Regions from separate parts of the Homo sapiens genome. Here regions 2, 3, 4 and 5 are each linked to region 1. The links are contacts of gene promoters, found by promoter capture Hi-C in blood cells and fetal thymus (Javierre and others, 2016). All regions are on one chromosome and are shown on one strand. The core of a region is centred on a gene start or on the middle of the fragment in contact, and the rest is flanking DNA. Distances in the headings are between cores, read along the strand shown.

Evidence for each region. The method cuts DNA at HindIII sites, captures the fragments that hold promoters and counts their contacts. A CHiCAGO score of 5 or more calls a contact.
Region 2: a fragment that was not itself captured here is called in contact with the fragment with the promoter of PDHA1 in region 1 in 1 of 17 cell types (naive CD4 T cells); the score reaches 5.1 in naive CD4 T cells.
Region 3: a fragment that was not itself captured here is called in contact with the fragment with the promoter of PDHA1 in region 1 in 2 of 17 cell types (non-activated CD4 T cells and M0 macrophages); the score reaches 6.6 in non-activated CD4 T cells.
Region 4: a contact is called between a fragment that was not itself captured here and the fragment with the promoter of PDHA1 in region 1, in 4 of 17 cell types (naive B cells, non-activated CD4 T cells, activated CD4 T cells and 1 more). The highest score is 8.5, in naive B cells.
Region 5: a fragment that was not itself captured here is called in contact with the fragment with the promoter of PDHA1 in region 1 in 2 of 17 cell types (naive CD8 T cells and non-activated CD4 T cells); the score reaches 7.3 in naive CD8 T cells.

Annotation. Positions count from the first base shown.
Region 1 is chrX:19,340,428-19,345,607 of GRCh38, reverse strand. It overlaps PDHA1 (pyruvate dehydrogenase E1 subunit alpha 1), which reads right to left and starts at 1,681. Exons shown (of 11, transcript NM_000284.4): 1 at 1,514-1,681. The coding sequence starts at 1,570. The HindIII fragment of the contact is 3,035 bases long and covers 1-2,730 here.
Region 2 is chrX:17,693,701-17,698,880 of GRCh38, reverse strand. The region is part of intron 3 of NHS (NHS actin remodeling regulator); the gene reads right to left. Among named protein-coding and RNA genes, the nearest start is that of SCML1, 41 kb to the left of the region's middle. The HindIII fragment of the contact is 1,204 bases long and covers 1,759-2,962 here.
Region 3 is chrX:17,727,140-17,731,820 of GRCh38, reverse strand. It overlaps NHS (NHS actin remodeling regulator), which reads right to left. Exons shown (of 9, transcript NM_001291867.2): 7 at 3,493-4,681; 8 at 3,046-3,172. Among named protein-coding and RNA genes, the nearest start is that of SCML1, 8.0 kb to the left of the region's middle. The HindIII fragment of the contact is 367 bases long and covers 2,957-3,323 here.
Region 4 is chrX:17,742,929-17,748,108 of GRCh38, reverse strand. It overlaps SCML1 (Scm polycomb group protein like 1), which reads right to left. Exons shown (of 8, transcript NM_001037540.3): 2 at 3,890-4,038; 3 at 2,570-2,653; 4 at 2,011-2,091. The coding sequence starts at 3,922. Among named protein-coding and RNA genes, the nearest start is that of SCML1, 8.0 kb to the right of the region's middle. The HindIII fragment of the contact is 8,319 bases long and covers 1-5,180 here.
Region 5 is chrX:17,787,193-17,792,372 of GRCh38, reverse strand. No RefSeq gene overlaps it. Among named protein-coding and RNA genes, the nearest start is that of SCML1, 52 kb to the right of the region's middle. RefSeq lists enhancers at 4,282-5,052, 5,053-5,180. The HindIII fragment of the contact is 3,463 bases long and covers 1,504-4,966 here.

The DNA of each region.
Region 1 (5,180 bases), core at 432-2,931:
AACGCTTTTTTTTTTTTTTTTTTTTTTTTTTTTTTAAAATACGGAGTCTTGCTCTTGTCGCCCAGGCCGTAGTGCAATGGCACGATCTCCGCTCACTGCAAACTCCGCCTCCCGGGTTCAGGCTATTCTCCCGCCTCAGCCTCCCGAGTAGCTGGGATTACAGGAGCCCGCCACCACGACCGGCTAATTTTGTATTTTTAGTAGAGACGGGGTTTCACCATGTTGGCCAGGCTGATCTCGAACTTCTGACCTCAGGTGATCCACCTGCCTCAGCCTCCCAAAATGCTGGGATTACAGGCCTGAGCCACCGCACCCGGCAGTTTTGTCATTATTTTAGGCAACAGGATTCCTAGAGGGGCATACCTCTTACCTTTTGACAATCTCTGCCTGTACTAAGTAGAGCGGTATCAAGTCCTGGGGGAAATACCAGAATCCCGAGGCCTGCAGTTACACCAATTAACACGACCTCACTGTGCCTAGGGGGGTCAGAATGCTAGCTCAGGTGTTAGGCACCTCTAAATGCTGAGGCCATGAAATAGTGCTAAACTCTACCCCCCACCCCTCAAGCATCGTTGCTCTTTGCTTTAGCTACTTGTACCCTAAGAATGTGTAGGTAAGGGGAGGGGAGGGCAGCGTCCTCTGAGTTCTGCTTCGGCGCTCCTGAACTCACTGCCAAGAAAAGCTCAGATGTTGAGGGAGAGGGAAGAGGAGGAAGTTTGTTTCTGAAGAGGCTGACCTTCTGTGAACCCGCCTCAGAACTGAGCACAGGTGTTCAAGAAATGTATACCGAACTGGAGACTCAATAAATAACACTATTCAACACACATGTTATCGATTATGTGCCAGGTGCTATTTGGAATCGTTTCCACACGTGTCACTCGTTGAATCCTCAAGACAACCCCAAGAGGTGGGGACTCTTATTATCTCCATTTTAGAGTTAACTGATAACATTTCAGAGATAACTCTTATCTCCATTTAGAGATTAACTCCACTTCGAGCAAACATTTTAGGAAACCGGGTCCCCGGGACGTTTAAAAACTTGCTCAAGGTCACAGGGCTAGTCAATGGTGAGGGTGCTGTTTGAACGAAGCCACCCTGTCTCCAGATTCTACGCTATTACAAAGCCTCTCGGTCAAGAGAAATTAAGTTAGAAGATCCGAAATGAGTGGGGTCAATTGGAGACTCGAAGGAGGCCGAGGCCACCCTTTCCGTGTCCTGTAACCCAACAGGCACCTCTTGAGCACACCGACTTCGCCTGGCGCACAGCTGGGCCCGGGGGCGGGAGGTGGGTGTCGAGAAGGGGGAAGTTCACACGGACCTTGGCGTGATCCCGGTCCGTGCCGCTTCTCCCGAGGCCAGGAACGGAATGCAGGGCGCGGAGGCGAAGTAAAGGCTCCCCGGCTCCCCTGGCGCCTTCCACCCCGCTCTGGGTGGCCCGGCCTGGCCCGCCCTGCCCTCCGGCCCCGCCTCAGCCCCACTCGCGCCCCATCCCGGCCCGCCCGGGAGGTCTCACCGGCTTCTGAGAAGCGCCAGACAGCACGCGGGAGACGGCGGCGAGCATCTTCCTCATGAAGCACAGGCAGTGGCGGCAGCGGCGACTCCTCACAACCCAGGAGGCACGACGCGGGTGCCCCCAAGTCTCCTTCAGGTGCCCCAGCAGACGCCACGCCTCAGTCGCACCGCGGCGTGACAGAGTCGTAATAACGTCATGCGCTGCGCCGGGCCGCGGGCCAACCAGAACGGCGTCCAGGGGGTGCCCCGCCCCCGCTAAAGGCCTGAGGCTGCCCATTGGGTATCAGCGCCAGAGAGGGAGGGGCTGAGGGCTCTTTCCGACGCCACGCCGCGGGCGGGTGAGGAGGCGGGGCTTGATAGCGCCTGCGTGGGAAGGTGGGGCCCCCGCCTCCAGGGCGCCGCGGGAAAGGAGCCTTCCTAGATTCCGCTCTGCTGACTACCGGGGAGGTTGTGCAGGCCCCGTCCTACCGAGCGCCTACTCCTGCCGGTGCTGCAGCTCTGCAGCCCTCGTTCAGTACATCTCGTTCAGTACACTAGATGATGAAGATTAGCAGCATGCTCAGAGCCAAAAGACAGAACATCTGGTTTCTGTAAATGGTCTGCCACTAACTTTGTCTTTAAAAGATCACGTAGCAGTTGGACAGTTCTGCCCTGTCTACTTGAACGCGGATCAAAAAATTTGTTTCCCAATATATGTCGAGAGGACAATGGGAAAAATCTTTTTTCTCTAGTTATTGGTTCACAGGCTCACTGCGAGTTAACAGCGTGGCTCAGCCGATGATAAAAGCACACACAGAGACAAAACACCAAAGCAACAAGGGGCTCTATTCAGAGGATCAAAGGGCTCAGGAACCCATTGTGTTGTGTCCTAGTGGGATTGCACCTGGGGTTCCGGGTTCAGATTTGGGCTCCACATTTTAAGGGGGATAATGAGTAAACTGAGTGGAATCCAGGGGACAGTGGTCAGAACGGTGAGGGGCTGCGATTGTGACTTATGAAGAACGATTAAAGAAGTTAGGAAGAAAACAGGCTAACTAGAATTGGCTGGGTTATGATGTAACAACTGACCTCCAAATTTCAGTGATTTCAAGAATTTGAAGTGACGCGAGCCATCGTACTCGTAACACAGGTCCCTCACAGCGTGGCACCCTCTCTCTGGAACTTAGCTTGTCTCATGGATGAAGAGAAAAGGGATCATTTAAACCGGCTCTCAAAGCTTCTGCCCAGAAGTGACACATGTCACTTCCTCTCAATTTTCACGGACCAGAGCTAGTTACCCGACCATGTCTGAGTTCCACAAGGTGAAATATAATCCTCCTGCCAGGAGGAGAACAGAAAATTGGATGAACAGTAAAACCAGAGAGGATTGGATATGTCTTCACACATTTTCAGGCCAGTCATGTTCCAGGAGGAAGAGCTATTTTGTGTGTGTGTGTGTGTGTGTGTGAATAAAATCATTTCATTTCAGCATAACAATGAATTTTCTAACAATGACAATGGTCCAATGAGATAATTCTCTCCCAGTGTCACTGAAAGTATTCAAAGCAGAAGTTCAAAGCATGACCAGCTCTCAGCATAGCTAGAGAAATAATTTGGGCACTGGGCCAGACTCTGGACTGAGAGATCGTGTTGCAGTGGAAGAAAACTTCTTAAAGGAGTGAGAGGGCGCCATTAAAAGGCAGAGATGGACGTGAGAAACTTGCATGGTATGATTTCAGCAGCTGCTGCTGCTGATAGAATATGAAAGGTAAAAGAGAATGAAAAGGTTGGAGGCCAGATGTCCAGCTCAGGAGAAAAAGCTGGTCTGAATGGTTTGGGACATGTTGACCTGGTGGTGGCAGTGGCACAGCTATCTGAAGATGTCCCCCGGGAAGTTGGAGTTGTAAGTCTGGAACATTTGCTAAAAATATTAATTTGGGAGTCATCTCCACGGGGTGGTGATATTGGTTGTGCATGTACGGGAACTCTGTAGGCCATATGAATATGAATTCATTCATTCATTTGCTCATTCATCCAACACCTATTATTGAGCACCGATTTTGTGTCAGACACTGTACTACACACTGAAGATATAGCAAGGAACAAGTAAAATATAGGTCCTACTTAAATACATGATTGAACAAATCAATGGGTTAGAAGGAACAACTTTTCCTTACAGTAGAATTCCAATTAATTAATATAGAAGGAATGATGAAAATAGAAAAAGAAAATCACCATTTGGCAAAGACCACAGTAACTGTTGCAGGTGAGAATTATCATCAATACAGGCTAAAATTAGTGGGTAAATGTATGATGAGAAACAGGACATTTGCCTCATCTCAAATGATCTCTCCACTAGATTCATTACAAAGTTTAAAGTAACTTTGCAGTGCAGAAACAAAGTAACCAATTTTTCAATGACTAGGATATTTTCTCTGCACTTCTTGTTCTTCATATATATACATATATATACACACATACGTGTATATATATATATTTTATTTATTTATTTTTTTGAGACAGAGTCTCGCTCTGTCGCCCAGGCTGGAGTGTAGTGGTGCAATTTCAACTCACTGCAAGCTCCGCCTCCCAGGTTCACGCCATTCTCCTGCCTCAGCCTCCCGAGTAGCTGGGACTACAGGTGCCCGCCACCACGCCCGGTTAATTTTTTTTGTATTTTTCGTAGAGACAGGGTTTCACCATGTTAGACAGTATGGTCTTGATCTCCTGACCTCGTGATCCGCCCGTCTCAGCCTCCCAAAGTGCTGGGATTATAGGCATGAGACACTGCGCCCGGCCTCTTTTTTTTTTTTTTTTTTTTGAGACAGATTCTCACTCTGTTGCCCAGGATGGAGTACAGTGGTGACATCTTGGCTCACTGCAACATCTGACTCCCAGGTTCAAGTGATACTCCTCATTCAGCCTCCCGAGTAGCTGGGAAAACGGGCGAGCACCACCATGCCCGACTAATTTTGTATTTTTTTAGTAGAGACGGGGTTTCACCATGTTGGCCAGGCTGGTCTCAAACTCCTGACCTCAGGTGATCTGCCCACCTTGGCCTCCCAAAGTGCTGGGATTACAGGTGTGAGCCACCGCGCCCAGCTGTTTTCAGATATTTGAAAGCAGAGTTGGAAGCAACTTTGAAGGTGAGGGACACTGTGAGATGCTGTGTCAAGTGGTGACAGGTGATGATTGTGGTTAATAGTCATTAACTATAGGCTATAGTAACGTTATAGTAATGTTATAGTCATTAACTATAGGCTATAATAACTATAGGCTATAGTAACGCGCTAGAACATTCACAAAAGACTCTTGTATCAGGAGAGGAGGCCGGAGAGAAAGAAAGATTTGCAAAAGGCGGGAAGAGAAAGTCTTAAGAAAGGAGGGCTCGTTAATCTTGGGGGAAATTGTAATCCCAGCACTTTGGGAGACCAAGGCAGGAGGATCACTTGAGGCCAGGAGTTTGAGGCCAGCCTGGGCCACAAAGTGATACTCGTCTGTACAAAAAATAAAATAATTAGTCTGGTATGGTGTTGCATGCCTGTAGTCCCAGCTACTAGGGATGCTGACGAGGGAGGATTGCTTGAGCCTAGGAGTTTGAGGCTGCAGTAAGCTATGGCGGCATCGCTGCATGGCGGCCTGGGTGACAGGGCGAGACCCCATCTCTCTAAAAAACAAAACAAAAAAAA
Region 2 (5,180 bases), core at 1,111-3,610, 1.6 Mb after region 1:
TTGTTTAAGGCTTAGCCAGTATCCAAGGAGCTAACCATATGGGTTTTCCCCTCCTAGATCTGTTAATATGATATATGATACTAATAGATTTCCTAATATTGAACCAACCTTCCATTCCTAGAATAAATCCCATTGGTCACAGTATATTAATCTCCTAATATAATATGATGTTATATTCTGTTTGCTAATGTTGAATTTAGTATTTTTGAATCAATAATCATGAGTGATATTGGTCTGACTGTCTTTATCAGTTCAGGTGTCAATGTTATACTTGCTCCATAAAAGAAATAATAGGGAAGTTTTGCTTCATTTTCAATGTTTGTAAACAATTTATAGAGCATTGGGAACATCTGGACTTTGAAGGTTTAGTAGAATTCCTCTGGGAAACCATCTAGGCCTGATGTTTTTTAGTGGCATGGCTCCTTAATAACTTCTTCTGGTTCTCCCATGGAAATCAGTCTGTTTAAGCTTACCAATTCTAATGACGCCAATTCTGGCAATTTTTACTCTTCTAGGAAATTATCCATTTCATCTAGGTTTTCAAATTTATTTGCACAGAGGTCTGCAAAATAGTCTCTTATAATTTTTAAAATTTCTTTTGTTTCAGTGGTATTTTTTCCTGTCATTGCTTATTTTATTTGTGTTTTCTCTCTCTTTTTCTTGGTCATGTTTTTTCAAATAATCAGGACCTAATTAATAAATAAAAATCTTGTGTGTGTTTAATGTATAGAGCATATAGTTGGATTTGCTTTGTGAGCCAAATTGAAAAGTTTTTAAATAGGCAAATTAAGCTCACTCATATTCATTGATATGACTAAACTCTGATAAATGTTATAATTATGTGTATTTTGTTATATTTGTTATGTTTCTTCCTCTGTAAGATGTGTTGTCTTCTCTGTTTATATAAAACAATTTTTTGGTATTTAGGAAGATTTGTATTTTTTTTTTTTTTGCTAGTAGTCTTCTTTTTTCTTATACCATTTTAATGTCCTTAGTCCTCTGTTTTATTATTCAAGCCTTTACTATCTGGTTAACTAGTTCTTATTGGTATCCTTTAACAGCCACTTATTGCCTAGACAGTGATCAATTAGCTTATTCTATTTTCTTCTTTACCTCTCCCTTCTCTCATTTTTAGTTGTATCATTCTCTGTTGTCACAACATTTAAAATTGCACCTTAGTTTTCTATCTTCATCTCCACTGTACTTTTAGTTTTAGATCTACATTTACATGTATTAAAATGTATGCTACCCATCCTTTTGCTGACATTTCCCCAATTATCCCTTGGTTGGATGAAGCTTGTCCTGTGGTAGATGCCTCATAAAGGACTCATGGGTGCAAAATTCTCTAAGTTCCTGTATGTTGAAAATTGCTTTTCTATACTTGATGAACAGCATGGTTGGACATAAAACCCTTGCTTCATATATTCTTTCATTGACCTTTTGCAATCACTCTATGTGGATCTGCTAATCTATCTCTTACTCATTTGTGTGGCTTTGGTGTGTTTCACAAGATCCCTAGTTTAATGGCACCATCTTCTGTCAGTTTGTTGAAGTTCAAATATTTTAGTGTATTTGTTTGTTTTGGTGGTGAGGCAGGAGTTGAAGGACACATACAACTCCTGCGTGTCCTTGAATTTTTTGGTTTTATTTTGTCTTGCAGGGTCCTAGAAATTTCCTTTTTGCCTCTTTTCTTCTTCACTCCCAATTGCTGAAGGGCAGATTTCCCTTCCTGTTTGTCTTTTGTCTCCCCCAGAAGCTTTATATAGAGAAAACTGCTCCTGTAAAATATGCATACTTTTAGGCCCTTTTTTGTAGTTTGTGTCTATCTGAAAAAATCTGTAGTATTTTTCAGACTTAGGGCAGACAATTTTTCTGGTGGTGGTTTTAGATCAATCTTAGGACCCACTGCTAGTTCATTTCTTCCATGTGGCTTTCTGAATCTGCCCTCCCTCACCTTGTAACAGGAGGAAATATGCTGAGACTTGGTGTTTTCTCTCTTTTACTTAACAGTCAATTTGATGTTTGGGAATTCTCTGTCCTCAAGTTATGCTGATGGTGTGTTTTTCTGTGTAGTTTTATTTTTCCCTTCTTGTTCTATATCATTTTTGGAGGAAATAATGGGAGATGGGGACCTAGGGTATCACCATTATAGTCAGCTACCTGGGAGTCTCAGTGTATATTTCGATCCACCAAAAAACCTATGTATTCAATTGCCTCAAACAGGCTACTTTCCAGCCATCAGCACTGTAAGTCTAAGTCTAATAGTTTTTGAGCACATAAAAGTATTGTTTCTTACCAAAGAAAGGCTGTGTAGACTACTTCTAATGGTTAGTACCAAGAGTGAAAACACATGGTTGGATTTGCAGGGAACAGGCTACCTGTTACAGCTCTGGCAAACGCTCCTGTTTTGATACACATTTGCCATTCTCAATTTGACCACAGCCTAGACAAGGTAGAAAAATTACCCAGAAATTCTGCCTGGAGGCAAATGACTTTCAGTAACTGGGTTTTTGTTTAGTACACAAACACACCTCTCCGGGAACCCTTTCCTCTCCCTACCTTTCCCTAAATAATCAGTATTCTGACACTTAACAAGTCAGTCTGCAGCCAAGAGTTCATGTGGACAGAAGTTGATCCCAGGCAATTTCTCTTTCATATTGCCCTTGGGAACATTTTTACTACAAACTTTTTACATTTGGTTCCTAGCTAGGCCCAGATAACTCTTCAGATCCTTTACCAGCCTAAAGCTGTAGTTTCTGTGGTGCATTAAAGAAAAGGTTGAGATGCTATGTGCAAGTGTTGATTTCGTGACGTTTGTTTCGATCTCTTCTCTGTAGCTCAGGTCCACAGTAACTTCATGTCCCAAATAAATGATCTTAAACTAATCTCTGGCTATAGAATTTCAAAATCCAGCAGGATGGAATAGATACCCCCCCCCTTTTTTTTTTTTTTTAAGGAAGCTTTTCCCTGAAATGACCTCCTTTGCCACCCTTGATAAGTAAGGACTCTTAGATGGGCTTTAATTAGAGATACTCCTTGAATTTTCAGCTAACAAAGGGTTTAGGGTTTTATGCTAAATTGGCTTGTCCTGTTTCCTGTGAGTTCCCCCTGGAGAACTTTTGGTACAAATTAAATGTCAAGAAACCAAGCATCCTCTCTTCTCACTTGTAGGAGTTATGAGGTTACTTTGGAGCCATCACCAGATGCCACCAGACAGATGACACTTTGTCCCTTGAAATTTTAAAATATCCCACGGCACCCTTAGGAGTTCACTGCAGTGCCCTAAGGCACCTCAGCACACAGTTTGGGAATCACAGATATACAACCTTCCAGCCTTTTCCCCCTATGCGTATGTATATGTACACATACATATACACTCGTTGACATTTTTTGAGATTATACTATACACAAATTTATAAACTATGTAAAAATCCCTGATAATAAAATATACATTTTCCCATGTCATTAAATATTCTTCTCTAACACTATTTTTGATATTGTATTCTATCCTATAGTTATATTAGTATTCATTAAACTAAGTCCCTATTGTTAGACATTTGGGATATTTGTGATTAACTTTCCCATTGTAAACAGTGCTTTGATGAACACCCTAGTGAATAAATCTTTGCATACACTGATTATTGCCTTGGGGTGAATTCCTAGATGTAAAATTGCTGGATCAAAGTTATGAATATTTAGAGTTTTGCCCTCTAGAAAGAGTGTAACAATTTATACTTCCTCTAGTCTTATATGTGAGTATATGTTATAGGCTTTTCATTTGATGGTAAGAATTTTATTGTAAACGATTTTGAATATAGACTCACATTCAGGTATTTTAGGCACTGTGCTAGGCACTTGCACAAATACATATACATAGTTTAATCTTATTTCTAAAACATCATATTTAGCCTCCTTAACAACCTTGTAAAGTTGATATTATCCCCATTTTACAGATAAAGAGACTGGGAGTCAGAAAGATACAATAGCTTTTTCCAAGTCACACATCCAAAAAGTTGTAGTGCTGGGATTTAAACACGGTTGGACCTATGATCTTATCACCATATTATAGATACTTCAGGGAATTGATTGGCTAATAATAATAATAACATCTGATGTTTATGTAGTGCTTATGTATGAGGTACTGTTTACATGTATTACCACGTTCAATTCTCATGCCAAGGCTATGAGGTACTATCTACTTCTATCCCCAAGACACTGAAATGACTAACTTGCCAGGGTCATACAGCTCGCAAGTGGTAGAGCTGGTATTCAAAGTCAGGCAGTTTAGCTTCATGGTCCATGCCATTAATGACCAAGGTACAGTACAATAGCCTGCAGAGTTGCAGAAGACTGTATGTCAATCTCATTATGAATGCTTTCTTAAAGGAAGAAAAGCATGCCTTCACCAAATCTCAAACATGAAAGGAGAGTTGTCTAAGAAAATGTGTCTATCCAGCAATTTGACTACAAATTTCCTGTCTCTATACCTGCAGCCATTTGTCTTTCAGCAATATACAGTCTTGTGAGCTTGAACTATGTTCTATCCAGGCCTAAGGGATATAACTCAAATGAAAATCTTCTAATCCTTGTAGTGACCCAAACTCTTGAACAAATAAAACAGTTAAAATTACTTAGAAATACTAAGTATTATCATTTGGGATGGACAAACTTACTGAAGTTTACCTAAGTGTAATCCATAGTCTTCTCTTATTGATGTTTGTTGGGTAAGTAAATGATGTACTCTCGTTGCTATTCGTCATTTTAAGCCTTTTCCTATAGTCTTACTTTAGTATTTAGACATTATTAAAAATTATGCAGATCATGAGAAAGGGTTATATTTTTATGTAATTTCTGTAAATGCTCAAAATTCTTCTCTTTCACCTCCCCCTTCCAAGAAAACCAACTTAATTAGCCATAAAACATGTTATAATGAATGGGAAAATATTTTAGCATTTTTATGCAGAAAATGCCTCATTAAAAGCAAATGCCTCAGCAAGCAGATTTGAGCTGCTTAAGAACTTCTGCTTTATGACAAATCACTAGCATGTGAAACTGCTCTATCTGAAGAACTAGAAAGCCCTAAGAGGCCCTTGTCTCCTTTTCTTATCCTTGGGCTGCAGTGCAGCAATGTAGTAAGTGCAACACGGCGCTCAGTGTGCACTTGATGAGCACTGAAGGAC
Region 3 (4,681 bases), core at 1,891-4,390, 1.6 Mb after region 1:
CAGTTCACGTTTTTATGAAACTGAAGTATTCAGTCGCATTCACACATCTGTCTAAAGTGCATTTTGAGCCTGTCCTATATGATGGGATACTAAGCATTAGGGCTATAGAGATGAAAAGTAAGATATGTTCCTTGTCCTTGTAGCACCCACAGTCTGAGAGAAATTCTCTGATAACCAGGACACAAATTAGGTTCTAGAGATGATCATTTCAGATAATGGCTAATGTGGAGGCTAGAGGTTCTAGAGGATACTTTGTAAAAGTTTAAGAAACTATACTGCTAACAGCCAGGCGCAGTGGCTCACACCTGTAATCCCAGCACTTTGGTAGGCCGAGATAGGCAGATCACTTGAGGTCAGGAGTTCGAGACCATCCTGGCCAACATGGTGAAACCCCGTCTCTACTAAAAATACAAAAATTAGCCGGGCATGATGGAGCATGCCTGTAGTCCCAGCTACTCAGGAAGCTGAGGCAGGAGAATCACTTGAACCCGGGAGGCGGAGGTTGCAGTGAGCTGAGATCACGCCATTGCACTCCAGCAGCCTGGGCGACAGAGCAAGACTCTGCCTCAAAAAAAAAAAAAAAAAAAAAAAAAAAAGGAAGAAACTATACTGCTAACTAAACTATACTTCTGGTTCCAGGGGGTGAAAGACTATAACTTTTTCTTATTAACTCTGTCTCTGCAATACAGATGAAATGATCTGATGTCTGGGATTGGCTTCCAAATAATACCAGAGAAAGCAAGTGGATGGAGGTGTGGGTGGGACAGGATTGGCCCTAGTTTGACAGTTGATAATCCTGGATGATGGATATGTCAGCAGACATTATACTATTCTACCTTTTAAAATCCCTCCATATAAAAACATAATTAAATGACGTTTTAAGTCAATTCATCTTGGGCTGCAAGTATCATTTCCTATAGCTTCCTAAGAGCATCAAGAGCATATTAAGCAGTAAGCCAGCTCTCTGTGGGGAATTGAAATCCCAGACCATCTCTGGAGCTCTTAAAGCTTTGTATACTGTAAGCTCGCAAGAAAACAAAATAATTCTTTTTGCTGTGATGTAAATAAACAAGTAAATAGATAAATAAGTAAACCCTGCACAAATGCAAGTCTAAGATTACCAAACTCAATACATCTATTGAACCTTGACTCCCATCATCATATTATTGATTTTCTTTGGTAAATCAGCAGGCATAAATTTGGTGGATCTTCAGTATGACTCAGTTCATTGATAGGCAGCATGCACTTTCATCAACTTAAAGATTCATATGGTAGAGAAAATGTGAACTTCACAAGTGTAGATATGCTTGATTTTGGTTCACAGAAACCTCTGTGGTTGATATCTTGTATATGGCAGTGTCTGGCACTCCACTAAGTTAGGGCTTTCAAACTAACAATGGCTTTTAGCACCTACCATATTCTAAACACAAAAAATGTTATCATCAAAATCAAATACGTGAGCTATAGGCATTCCCATGTGCAATAAGGGAGTAGGTCCAGAGGTTTTAACTTACTCAAGACTGCATAGGAAGTGGCAGAGTTGGGATTCAAATCCAGGTCTTTCTGACCCCACTATTTACGTCCTGTCCACTATTCCATACACTAGCATTTGGTCCTTTGGGAGTAACTTTTTAACTTACATAGCAGTTTAGTAATTTTTCCTGGGATTGAAGATAAACTGTGGGGGTGAGGGAAATATAATCAGAGCTTAGACTAGGCACAGGGGTGAAGGAAAAGAAACTAATGGTTCTTCACCCTCTGAGTAGAGAAGTATGCCTGCTAAGGTATACATAGAAGGTGTTTCTGATTGGCTCCTTTTAAAACAATTGTTGAACAGCAGTACTCCTTCTTTATGAGAGAACCACATCAACAGAAAACAGAAATTCCTATAAAAAGTAGAATTCCAGGAGAAAAAGATTGTAAGCTGCTTACGATGAATTTGTTTCAAAAATGATAACTTTATGAGGTAGAAAAGACAATCCCCAAGTTGTATCTCTTGGGAGTTCCATCTAGGTTCCCGAGGTCTAAGAAGACAGTTGTGTTTGTGAAAGGAGGAGGCATGGCAAATCATGATTGGCTAGCTCAGTTATATGTAGATTAGGTGTCCAAGGGCTAGTTCCTGTTCTGTTCTTTGGTCATTAGCTATAAGGAATAATTTTTGCAAATATGGACCATGGATCACAAGGGCTCATGGGGGCAGATGAGGAAATATGCCTTTGCAGCATGGACACAACACTGTCCTGGAAAAGCAACCCAAAAGACCTGTATTCATGGAATATGGGCATTAATTTTGGGGATGAAGGCCAGTACTATTAAAGAAATTTAAGTTCTAAGAAGAAAGAAAAACAGAGAAATTATTACTTGTTCTGAGCTATAAAATGGACAGGAACACGTATTGTCTTTTCTCAAACTTGAGACTGTTTTGTGATCAACTTTGTGTGTGTGTGTGTTCTCTAAGTTTTATTTTATTTTAAGCTGACAAATAATTGTATATAGTTATAGGGTACAATGTGAGTTTTTTATTTTTTATTTCAATAAGTTTTGGGGGAAGAGGTGGTATTTGGTTACATGAATAAGTTCTTTAGTGGTGATTTCTGAGATTTTGGTGCATCCATGGTGAATCAACTTCTGTTTGTCTCTGCTGGTGTATGACTACAGCTTTGATCATATTTTTTAGGTTCAAGAAAGTATTCAAAAGTCAGAGATTACACTAGAGTTTGAGCTTTCACTCCAAGTCACTTAACCACAGATTGTTTTCACATAAAAACTTGTTCCAGAATGTCTTTTCCTGGGGAAAAATAAAGCCACTCTTACAAAAGTCTCTCAATCGAGGTCTATCAAACTCTATATAAAGATCCTATTTCCCAACTTGCATATCAGTCTATCAACTTGATTTGGAAAAATTATTCTTTGCTTGCTTTTGTTTTTGCTGAATGTATTACAATTACAAAAAGCTTTCCTGTATTTGCATTTGTGAGAAGTACCTGAAGGGGCAAAACCTTTGTTGTACCTTTTGTTTTGGGGGACTTGGTAATGTTGCCTCACCTGTGAATGACTGCAAATAAATCCTCAGTTGTTCGAGGTTTGTTTGGAGACACGAACACACCCTCTGCTTCAGCTTGGGAGTCTTCACTAAGTGGTGAAATGATGGAGTCATCACTCGGTGATGATTCTTAAAATAAGAACAGAAGAATCTTTAAGAGGAAGTTACCCAGCACGCTACTGTACTTCACTGACTCAGGGAACAAACAAACAAACAAACAAACAAACAGAAATTACCTTGCTGCCATTTTTTAAAAATGAGAGAGATACCTGTCAAAGCTTACTCACCCAGTAACAAAAGCTTTTATCTCAATTGTTTTAATAAGTGCAAAGAAATAGTGGAGGGAAACCAACACCCAGGGCTGTACCGTATTATTGGGAACATAAGAAAAAATTCCAGGAAGTGCCATGAGACACATTTCCTTTATGACAAAGTTATCAGTGACTGACCTTTCAATGAAGCCTCATCCACATTTCCTTGGGTCTCCTCTGCTTTGCTGTTATCAGAGGCACTTTTGGCTGAAATACCTGAAGCAATATTTTCCTGCTTGGAACATTTTTCAGGGAATGAATTTACAGATGTTATCTCCGATTCATAGCTGATAGTACCAGGCACTTTGTCATGGTGGCGGCTCATAACAAATTGATGCTTAAATTGATTGCTTACATCTGTTGCTCTAGTTGGTGAGTCTGACTGAGATGTGATTACATCCACAGATTCAGGTTGTGCAACTTCCTCCAGACCTGCAGAGGGTGCCTTCTGTACCTGTTCTAGAGTTTCGTCTGGACCAGGTCCATATTGTATTATTTTACCATCCAAATCATTTGGGCGGGCAGCAGAGACCCTCTGAAATCCTTCTGTGGGAAAAGCACAGTTTTTGGTTGGCGTGTTTTCTGGAATAGGCTCAGTCTCTGTACGCACTTGGTCTTTTGTGACATTTGAATCTAGAAGACTGCTACCAGCTGATGTTATGGTTTCTGGATCGCAGCGATTCTTCACATCAAAAGTAGAGTTTTTTTCTAAATGTAGTTTATCTGGTCCCATCTCAACTGCAGAAGAGTCTAAAAAGGACAGTATGGTGTCTTCAGTGGAGTATTGACGAGATACTGATTTATTTGCTGTATGCGGCCTAATCTTACTTGGAGACAAGGCAGCCGTTGTGAGTGTGCTTTCCTCTAAATAAGGGAGATCTGTATTGTTTTCTTCTTTTTGCTTAACTTCTTCAGACTTGTTGATGGACCTAAGGTTAACAGATTTCAGGATCGTTGGTGTAATTGCAAGGGACGGTGGAGGATTCGACCTCAGTGTTTCTCCTACTGTGTTCTGCTTATTATGAGTAAAAACATGCAGTGGATGACGGTGGTGGAATGGTTTGTTCAAGACATTATGAAGAGCACTTAGATCAAGATGGGTAGGAGGTATAATTGGAAGTTCAAGGTCTTTACTCAGTGATATAGTTCCATCTTTTAAAGAGGGTTGCTGTAGTGAGGATTTTCTTTCTGGGACTTTAGGTTTTCTTTTGCTACCTCCGGGAGACAATGGACCTGAAAAGAAAGCTGTAGGGAAAGAGGATGTTGGCGTTTCAGACTGGCTTGAATAGCCACTTGATGGAGATGCCAAGCCAGCCAGCTTTTCTGG
Region 4 (5,180 bases), core at 1,083-3,582, 1.6 Mb after region 1:
TCATCAGAAATGCCAAATGCCAGGTTGTACCCCAGACCTATGGAACCTGGAACTCTGAGAGTGGGGGCAGTGGTCTATGTTTTCACAAGCCCCCCAGGTGATTCTGATGGCCCTAGTGAGAACCACAGGGCTGCGGCACTGAGATAAACAGTGCAGGCTCTTGGGGAACATGGTTGGGGTCAAATACTACAGTCCAGCCACTTATTGGCTGTGTGACCCAGGGCAAGTTACTTAACCTCTCTGTGCTTCAGTGTCCTCATGTAGGGAATCAGGATGAAAAGCTCTCTCAGGGTTCTCTCGAGGACGAGAACCTTGCTATAGTATTAGGTTAATACTAACAGTAACAGCACTACACTACACCCGGTCCAACAGTGCTCAGTGGTCTCTTCATGTTACTATTGTTATTACCAGTGGCGTGACACAGGTGGGAACAGGAGGCTAAGCCTGCACAGAAAAGCAGTCCTAACCCAGGCTGCAGTCACGGAGACCTTTTCAGAGGAGGTGAGGTCTGAAGTGAGAATTAAAACATGAGAAGGCCCTCGCCAGGTGAGGATGCATGGAAGGGCTTACAGCATAGAAGGAACAGCAGGTTCATAAATACCCAGAGAGAAAAACAGGAAGCCAGGTGTGGAGACAGCAAGTATGAATGACATTCCAGGAGTGGGGCTGTCACAGGAAGAAGAGAGTGAGGATGACAGGAAAGGAGGGATGGGAAGCAAGAGAAGTGGCTTCTCCAAGATGTGGGAGAACTCGTAGAGGGGAAGGAGGGACAGGGACTGGAGCCAGAGGAGAGAGAGGGGGATGCCCGATGGGGGGCAGCTCTGAGTTCAGGGAGGGGACTAGATGCAGAAAGCAGCAAGGGTGTCAGCCCTGGTCACTAGAATGGCCGGGAAGGGGTCAGAAGAAGGGCAGGGATGAGGGCAGTTGGTTGGCTGTGGGGACAGTTATGAGGACTCGGAGGAGAGGACTGCCCCAGGTGCTCCACTATCTCCACGAGTGAAGAGGCAGGACTAGGGAGCTGAGGTAGGCAGGGGATGGCGAGGTCTTCCTCTGCTTCCAGACTAAGCAGGATGGAGACAGACTCAAGAGGGAACTGGGATGAAAGAACAAGGCAGGCTGGAGTGCCACCTCTGTGATCTAGAACGGGTAGGGGAAGAAAGAGCCAGCCCCTTGGCAGCAATGGAGAGGGGCCCTTGGGGCCATTTCAGGCTGACCATGGCCCTGGACACCTCCCCCCACAGATGCTACCTCCCACCTCAGCGTATAAGCTGACCTAGACCATGACCTAGCAGTGCATGGGGAGGCAGGCTGGGGAGAACCTGCTCCCTCCCTTCCCAGCTCGCCTCTGCACCCACTTCCCCCCAAGACTGTATGTGTCCCTTGGAAGCACTCCACTTCTGTTCTCCTCCATGATCATGATAAACACCCAAACAATTTTACTTTCCAAAGTATGTTAGCTCATTCCATTCAAGAAACCTTATATATGGTAAGAAACATTATATATATATAAACCTTCATTACCTCTGGGGTATGCAACTCACAAAATTCCCAGTAATCACATCTCTACCAACATGGTGATTCTTAAAACAACTCCTCAAAACTACCTTAGGTATGTTTCTTTACTAAACCTTGATGGGCTGCCACTTTGTTTCCATTGAGATATCTTGATGTGCATTTAGGCACATACTAAATTTCATCCAAATCAGTCAATTTCCTTTAAGGATTTTGTAGGGGAAACTAATTTAATACTGAGCAATGTAGATGAAAGAGACATAACTACATTTGGTTGGTAATGGGCTTTTTAAAAAGCTATTAAATCTACATGTTGCTATTCAGGAAATGTGGTTCTAACTATAAATTGTTTTAAAAAATCATCACAATGGGATGATAATCATAAATAAATTGATAGGCAAAATTTCAATTAATTGTACACTTTCCCTTTATGTGAGATAAAGAGAATTTTTGCTTAACATTTTAGAAAACTACATTGAAGAGACAGAACTTCCATACCTGGCAATGAATAAGGACATCATCAACTGTCTTCAGTTGCTCTTCAGTATTACAGGATGCGTCAGATACAATATTCGGTTCCTGCTAATATTTTAAAAGTAGTTAATGATTTATTTCTGTAACAGCCAAACTGAACACTGGGGGCAGGGGGGAGCTATATTTATTTATTTAAATTGTTTTTATTTATCACCAACTTTTCAAGGGGTTTCAGAAGTCTTAAATTAAGCAGAGATTTTTAAAATTCACATTAATATGAGAATGAAAAACTGACAATTGAGGAAGGGGGCAAGAAAAGAATTTATTATATCAGAAGAATCCAGGTTTAGAGTTTTATACTGAAAGTGAGTACAAAACTGCTCTTAATTTTCTACTATATAAGAAAAAGGGGAAAGTAAATTGGTTAAGTGCTCATTCTCTGATGAAAGCAAGCATACAAATTCAGGGGAGAGATATTTTCTTGAGTGTGAGTTTACGGGAACTCCATAGTATACGAGGAATTTACATCTTTTCCTTTAAAACAGCAAATGTTAATATATTTGGCAATTAGCAATTAACATACTTTATTGACAAATTCAGGTTTTGTTTCATACGCATAAAGAATAGTGTTGTCATCTTCATCGTAAGTAGGTATTCTTGTTTTTATCTGAGGAAAATTTACCAACAAATTAAAAGGGAAGATGAAAGACAGAACTAAAAGAAAAGTTGAGGGTTTAATTTCACTTTCAAGAGGCTGTTACAAAGGCCTATTTGTGATATCAAAGGACCTTTGCTCACTGTAAATACTATGACTACATGAAAAGATGTATTTGCAGAACTGTGTTCTCATTAACCCAACTACACTTAAGACAACAGTTTTCACTGAGCTTAACCCTTTATATGCTTCATGGTAGAAAGACTAGTCCTTTAGCACCAGAAATACTTTAAAAGCAAATATTTCTAACCATGAACAAAGAAATAAATGTTACATGTTTTTTGATTTCTAAATAATCCAACAGTGCCCCTCTGTGGACAAGACAGAAAACATTTGAGCACCTATTTTTCTTGATACATTAATCTCTAAAGTACCTTAAAACTTTTAAAAATAAGACAGGGTATAAATAAGTAAGGAGTAAATAGCCATTACACTTCAGTATAATAACTCTTCATTCTAAGAATGAATTATGAACTATGGGAATAATTTTATAATAAACATACTTGGTAGCTATGTATGTTTTTGTTTCAAAATACATGACAGAAATCACAAAAACATATGGAATTGGGTTACAGTTCAGTACTTTTAAAAATATACTATCTTACCCTTGTATAGTGCCTTATGCTTTTCAAAGTGCTTTTACATAGTTATGTCAGAGAAAAATGACTCTTGATAGGCAGTTAACATTATCTCCAAAGATTTTTGAAAAACATTAGGACTGACAGTAGTTAAGAGAATTGCCTAGACTACTTAGGTAGCATTAATATCTATGTCCTTATGTGACTAAAAAAAAGGTGTTTTCTGTTAAGCCAAATTATTTATAGTTTAATAATCTACATACTGATTCAACTTGAAGGATGAAGAAATATAGAAGAATATAACAGAAATGTAAAAACAGCACAACCACTTTGAAAAACTGTATGGCAGATTCTCACAGAGTTAAATTCACATGAACTCCATGACCTAGTAATTCAACTTCTGTCTGTTCACCCAAAAGAAATTTAAGTGTGTGTTCACAAAGAAACTTGTACACAAATTGTCACAAGAGCTTTATATATTACTGTTAAAATATATAACAAAAATTTACTTATGATCTATGCATTTCACTGTATAAAATTAAACTAAATTTAGAGTAGAAGTATAGCACAGTAAAAAGAACAAAGACAGATTTTCAATTTGAATACAAACCACATCGATTTCACTGGAGCTGTTAGACATCATTTTTGTGCAACAGGAGAAACTCCACTTCCTCTGAGTTGGACCTAATTATTTTTAAACTTGCTGGAGGGTTTATTTGTGATACTGCTTAGTCACCTAAGAGTGGTAAACCTCTACTCCTGAAAAGCAACGCATAAAAAAGTTACTTCATACACTTACTACCTTAATAATATGGATATACTCTCAGAATGCTAACTCAAATAGAATTGGACTTTGGGTTGAATTTTAGAGAGTGACAAAACCAGAATTCTTCCATGGCCAATTTAGAATAAATCTTTCAAAACTGAAGGGCCATATTGCTCATGACTAGAAATAAGAATCAAATCAAACACAATTACAAACTGTGAAGTGACTGCTTAGTAACTTAAAGCCTACAGAGTAAATGCTGGAAACAAATGAACAAGAGAACGCAAGGGCTAACTGCTTTTGTAAAGGAGCTCCAAAAGGCTCTTGACTAAGGAGAAAGCATTGCCTCCAAAATGTAAGCCAGGAGTCTATTCTGGATTGGGTCCCCCCCGACTATGTGGGCTGGGCGGACCACAAGAGACACCACCTCCTCATCCACCAGGTTTCGAACACCAGTTGAGATGATCTCTAAGGTCCATTTCAACTTTCAAGTTAGGATTGCCTTATTAAATTTTATATTAAACCTAAATAAGTGGATGTGAAAGGTAAGCCAAACAATCTAAAATTAGGAAGGTTTGGTTATGGCTCTGAGTCACTTTACTATGGAACTAGAAAACTGGCTGCAAGAGTATCGGATTATATCTTGTACTAGAAATTTGCTTTGAATGTCTGCATCACAGTTACTGGGAAGGGTACGTTAATGAAAGAGCTACCCTATCCTTTCTGAACCAGAGCAGTAATGAGAGGCACAATTAAGAGATTCAGGTTTCATCTCTTTCCTGTTTCCCTTTCATTCTATAGTGGAGATACTAATGACCATGAACCCAAAAGACAGAAATCAAAAGGGATAAAGAAGATGGGAGAACTAACTCGAGTTAGATAAACGCAGACTAATGTTGCATAGAAGTATCAAGTTATAAAATACCTCTCTAATTGGGGCTGTAACTTCAATCAAATTTCACTTTTTAAACTATTTGAGTTTTCTGACCATAAAACTTATACAGGCTATCAGTAATTAAATTGTGGTATATTTATATAAAGGAACTTCGCAGCAATAAGAATAAACCAACTACTGCTGTATACAGCAAGGCCGAATCTCACAACCATAACCTTGGGTTTAAAAACAGCCAGAAAC
Region 5 (5,180 bases), core at 1,986-4,485, 1.6 Mb after region 1:
TCCTGTGTCCTATTTATTTACTCTTTAGACCCTTCCTTTGTTTTGACCATCAAGGTTAAAATCCAGCAGAGCCCATTTGAGCAACCACAAATTTTCAAATAATTAAAATTTTAATTTATGTTTTACTGGTTTCCCTTTCTTCCTCTCTCCCTCCTACCCTCCTTTCTTCCCTCTTTCTTCCCTTTTTCTCTTTTCTTTTTTAAAAAACTCCCCAAAGTGCTGCTTCTGCTTAATTTTATAAATGGCAAGAACTCCCCAGGGAGCCCTGGTTGTTTCCCAGGCCTCATCTCCCTGACCTCTGGGAGGTACAGGTGTGAAGGCATGGAGGTATGAGGCACTTTCATCCCCCTCCTCCTCCTTAGCTTTCCTGGCAAACCTCTCTCCCCATGCTCTGGTCTCTCTGATTGTCTCTTCATTTTGACCTCTGCAGATAACGATGCTGATGCTCCACTTCTTCCCTCTCTTTCAGGCCTAAGTTCTCATTCCCTGTGCTTTCCTAGGATGACATTCTCATAGTTGTCTCCAACATTTTTATTTTGTTTATTTATCTCTATCTTCAGCTCTGACTTCTCTTTCCCCCTCTCTCTCTCCTTCTTTCCTTCTCTCCCTCCCTTCCTCTCTCTCTTTCTCTCTGCCTCTTTCTCTTTCTCTCCCCCTCACCAACCCGCCATATTAATAGGCTGGTGTCTCATATTCATCATCCTAGAACTAGACAGCATCGCCCATCCTCAACCCCTCCTCAGATCCAATGTACACCCTCTGCATCTGCTGCTGCCTGCTTCCTGGTTCTCCAAGCAAGAAATGTGGAGCTGTTCTTCATGACTTCTCCCTCACTTTCACCTCCCAGATACCTGTCTTCCTGACTTTGACTCCCCAGTCTTCCTCAAATCCATCATTCCTTTCCTCCATACTACTGTTCTTGAGCCTGCCCACATCATCCTCTGCCTAGATTCTTACAGTGGTGTCAGAACGGGATGGGCACCATGCACCCATCTTTAGCTTGCCTGATTCTCTCCTCTATACTGCCACCGGGATTGTTTTGGTAATAGGCAAGCTTCACCATGTCGTTCTGCTGCATAAAAGCCTGTGGTGTTGGATACCTCCCCGCACCCTGTGGCCTCACATGTCAGCAGGCCTCCTGAGGTCACGGCCAGCCCAGCACTGTGGCTAGAACTCCCTGCTTCACCCTATGTGTAAGCTCCAGGGATACAGGAAGGTTAGCAGTTCCCAGCCCTGCCTGTGAGGTTCCACCCCTGAGTGCCCTCCTCTTGACACTCCTTCCCCACCTTCTTGGGTTTTTTTTGTTTGTTTTTTGTTTGGAGACGGGGTCTCTCTTTGTTGCCCAGACTGGTCTCGAACTTCTGGCCCCAAGTGATCCTCCCACCTCACGCTCCCAAAGAGCTGGGATTATAGGCACCAACCACTGCACTTGACCTTCGCCATCTTCTTACTCTGACTAATCCTTCAGGATTCAGCTCAAAACAACACCTCCTCCAGAAAGCTTTCCATGACTGCTCTGGCATAAGCTAAGAGCCCCTCTTGCCCTCCCATAGCAACATATGCACACATCTGTATATCAACTCATCCATCTCATTCAATTGAAAGTATGACTCTGTCTATCCCACTGTGTCACACACTCCTCTAGGGCCAAGGTCATTGTCATTGTATCTCATACACCTAACACAGTGCTTGACATGTAGGGGACCCTCAATAAATGTGTGTGGACTGCACTGAACCTATGTGGAAAGTGCAAGTGTGCCCTTCTTAGCCAAACCAGTACAATATATGGAAACCCAAACATACGAAACAAATATCTGGAATCTATAATTGACTTTGCAAAAGAAGATGAACTACTTGATTCCTTTAAACCGTATGGCTTACTATGTTTTCAAAACAAGATGGATTCTTCAAAAGTGGTTTCTACACTCTTATAAAAATATACATAAAACATAAAGCAAGCAATAGTCAACATCTCATCACTGGCATACAAAGAAAATGCTTGAGCATTCACCTCCCCAGAGTTTGTGGATTTCTTTATAAATGACATGCATGGACTACCAAACAAATATGTACATTATAAAATAAGTGCAAAAATAGAAATGTTGGACAAAAATGAAACAAACATAAATAGGTTCAATATTTTCTTTCTACGCCCCAATTCATTATCTTATGTATCCCACCGGGTCATAATGAAATGAGACTATTATACATCTTTCAACTGGCTGAACACAACCTTTAAATTCTCTTAGAGATCCATGCATTCTTCTTTCTTGAAATATGAGAAATAACCAAGCACAAGAGGTTTCTGCATCAGAAGTAGAATGAGTGCCTGTCACTACACCTAAGCAGGGGGATGGCTGGAGACCCTGAGTAAAAGTTAAGAGTGCCAGTGTTAGAGCCACAAAGTCTGGATTGAATTCCCAGCTTTGCTCCTTTCTAGCTGTATGACTTTGGGCAGGTCACTTAACTTCTCTGCTTCCATTTTCTCAACTGTGAAATGGAAATAATAAAATATCTTCAAGTATCTGGGTTTGTGCACTGGGGTACCAAGGACAGGGTACTCAATAAATGAGCACACAGTAAGCATGAGCAAGGGATATAAATGATATAAATAATGATAAATAAATGTATTTGTATTATATCTTGTTTACAGATAATAATAGGGAGCAAGGTCACCACAATTCTAGATTTTAAAAAGACTTTAATTCCAGTAAGCAGAGTTTTAGATTTCACTTTGTTCCATGAAAGTGGGTTTCCAGCCAGGCACTTTCATGCCTGCTTCCAGACTACTGACCAATATTTGAACTAATGTAAATGTCATTTTGATTTCCTTCCCATTGGCCTGAGAAAAGGGTTGATCGCTTGGCTATCAGCAAGAAAATGAACTCGTTAGAATAGGAGAAAAAGTGACACAGGCTGGGAGAAAGAAGCCTGAAGGCAAAATTGGGCCTGGAATCAAAGTGGCATGTGTTCTTAGACCTCACCCTGCTTTGGATTCCTCATCAGTAAAACCGCACAACTCAGCTGCCTTTCTCATGGGGATTGATGAGCTAACGCAAGCGCCCAGGGCCCATGAGTAGGAGGTGCACACGGGCCAGGGTTCCCTTCCTTGCTTGCAGCAAATAGACGCTAGATGAGGATGGGACTTTCAGGTGTCCCCACCCAGGGACAGTCCCTTATCCAGAGGCCACCGTCCAATCACAGGGCCCATGGAAAGCCATGCCCTGGGGGCAGCTCTGTAGTGACACCAAGAGGCTATGCAGCCTTAGAAGTCTGCAACCTGGTGAGCAGGGGGGTTGAGGCTTCCTCAAAAGTAAATTATACAGCTGAACCCCCTTTATCAAACTCTTCTTACAAGAATGTGATGCCTTAGAGTGGATGAATTGTTATTTGAATTAGAAATCTAAAGTTTGCTTTACAAGAGATAACATCAGTTTCTGTTTTGAATGAGGGAGGTTTCTTGAGTGCACTTGAGACACGATCTAGCATGTGGGCAACTTCCGAAGAACACATCTGCTATATAAATTGGGGGCAAGTGTATTTGAAATAACTACAGAAAAGGGTTTGTGAGGTGAGCATAGAAAAGGAATCTCTTGCTCATGCCATTTATGAGCTGCTGACCTCTCCACCACGGGAAGAGGATTTTTTTTGCAGCAAAGGAATTCAAAAAGTCAGAACAGCCCTGCTTCTCCACCCACCTACTGGGAAGAAACCACCCTCTTACCCACTTCATCTGCGCTGGGATACAGCGCCCTCTGCTGGCAGATCACAGCAACAACCTCAGGAATCTTCCAGAGTGGTCCTGGCACGGGCACCTACCTAGCATACACCCCTCCTCTGTGAGCCTCTTGAGACACCCCTGGGGAGGGCCCAGACTGAAAATCCTGAAGGGTCCAGATTTTCAGAAAAGAACCACCTCACCCTTCATTAATGGGAAACCGTGTCCCAGCAAAGCCAGGGAGAGAGAAGATCGCTGGCCTGGGACTTGGTAGCCTTGGGGACAAGCTAAAATGAAAGCTGGGGACACAGCACACTGCAGGGTGCAGAGCTGAAGCAGTGACCTCGACATTTCTGGGGACGATAGGAACAGAGCAGGGGAATGTTGGGGATCTTGGAATGCGACTCAGGGGAGCTGGGGGACGGAAGCGGTGGTGGGAGCACAGGCCTAGCCTGGCAGCCACTACCCTTGAGCAAGCAGGGAGGGTGGGCCAGGGGCGCTCCCACGACACAGCCAGTATTGGTCACTCTGCCAGACACTGGGTTCCCTACCCCGGCTGCACCCCAGGATCACCAAAGGAACTGTCAGGACGCCTGATGCCCAGCCTGAGCCCAGAGATGTCCATGCTCCTGGTGGTTACCTACAAAAGGGTGGCCTTGGTAGAGTAAAATTTGCCTGAGAACTTCAGCCTGTCTCCCAGGCTGAGTCTAGCACTGAGACCCCGGGAGGAGGTCCGGGAAGTGGGGCCTCAAGTGTGCCCCAGGAGTGGTAGAAGGCAGCAGCACCTCCACCTGGAGGAAGCCTCCTAGTGAGGCACGACCTGGGCTGTAGTCTCCTCCGACACCGTCGGCCCACTCTGATCTCTGCGAGGCGCACGACTCCGGGCCCAGCTCTCACTCACCTCTCTCCTGGTGGTGAAGCAAATGCCATGTAGCATCATGATGGATGTCCTCCTCCCACACCTGCATTTGGGTGAGGGGACCAGTACACACCATCCCACCCTTTCAGGGCCCCAGGAAGGTGGGCCCTGGTGCCCACTCTGCCCTCCTGCCCAGCCCAGTTCAACAGCAAGTCTGCAGCCTCGAGTCCAGATTGCAGAGGGCCAGGTTCTGGTGACCCTTCTGGATTCCGTATCTTGATGTTTCAATGCCGAGAAAGGAAACAGGAAAGGCACCCTTCGAATGCTCTGGTCAAAGGTTCCACTGAGACCACTGCAGAAAGCTCAGCTTCTCAGACCTCAGGCAAGCTTGAAAGTACTTTCCTCTGGGAGGAGCCAAGATGGCCGAATAGGAACAGCTCCAGTCTACAGCTCCCAGCGTGAGCGATGCAGAAGACGGGTGATTTCTGCATTTCCATCTGAGGTACCGGGTTCATCTCACTAGGGAGTGCCAGACAGTGGACACAGGTCAGTGGGTGCACGCGCACTGTGCGCGAGCCAAAGCAGGGCGAGGCATTGCCTCAC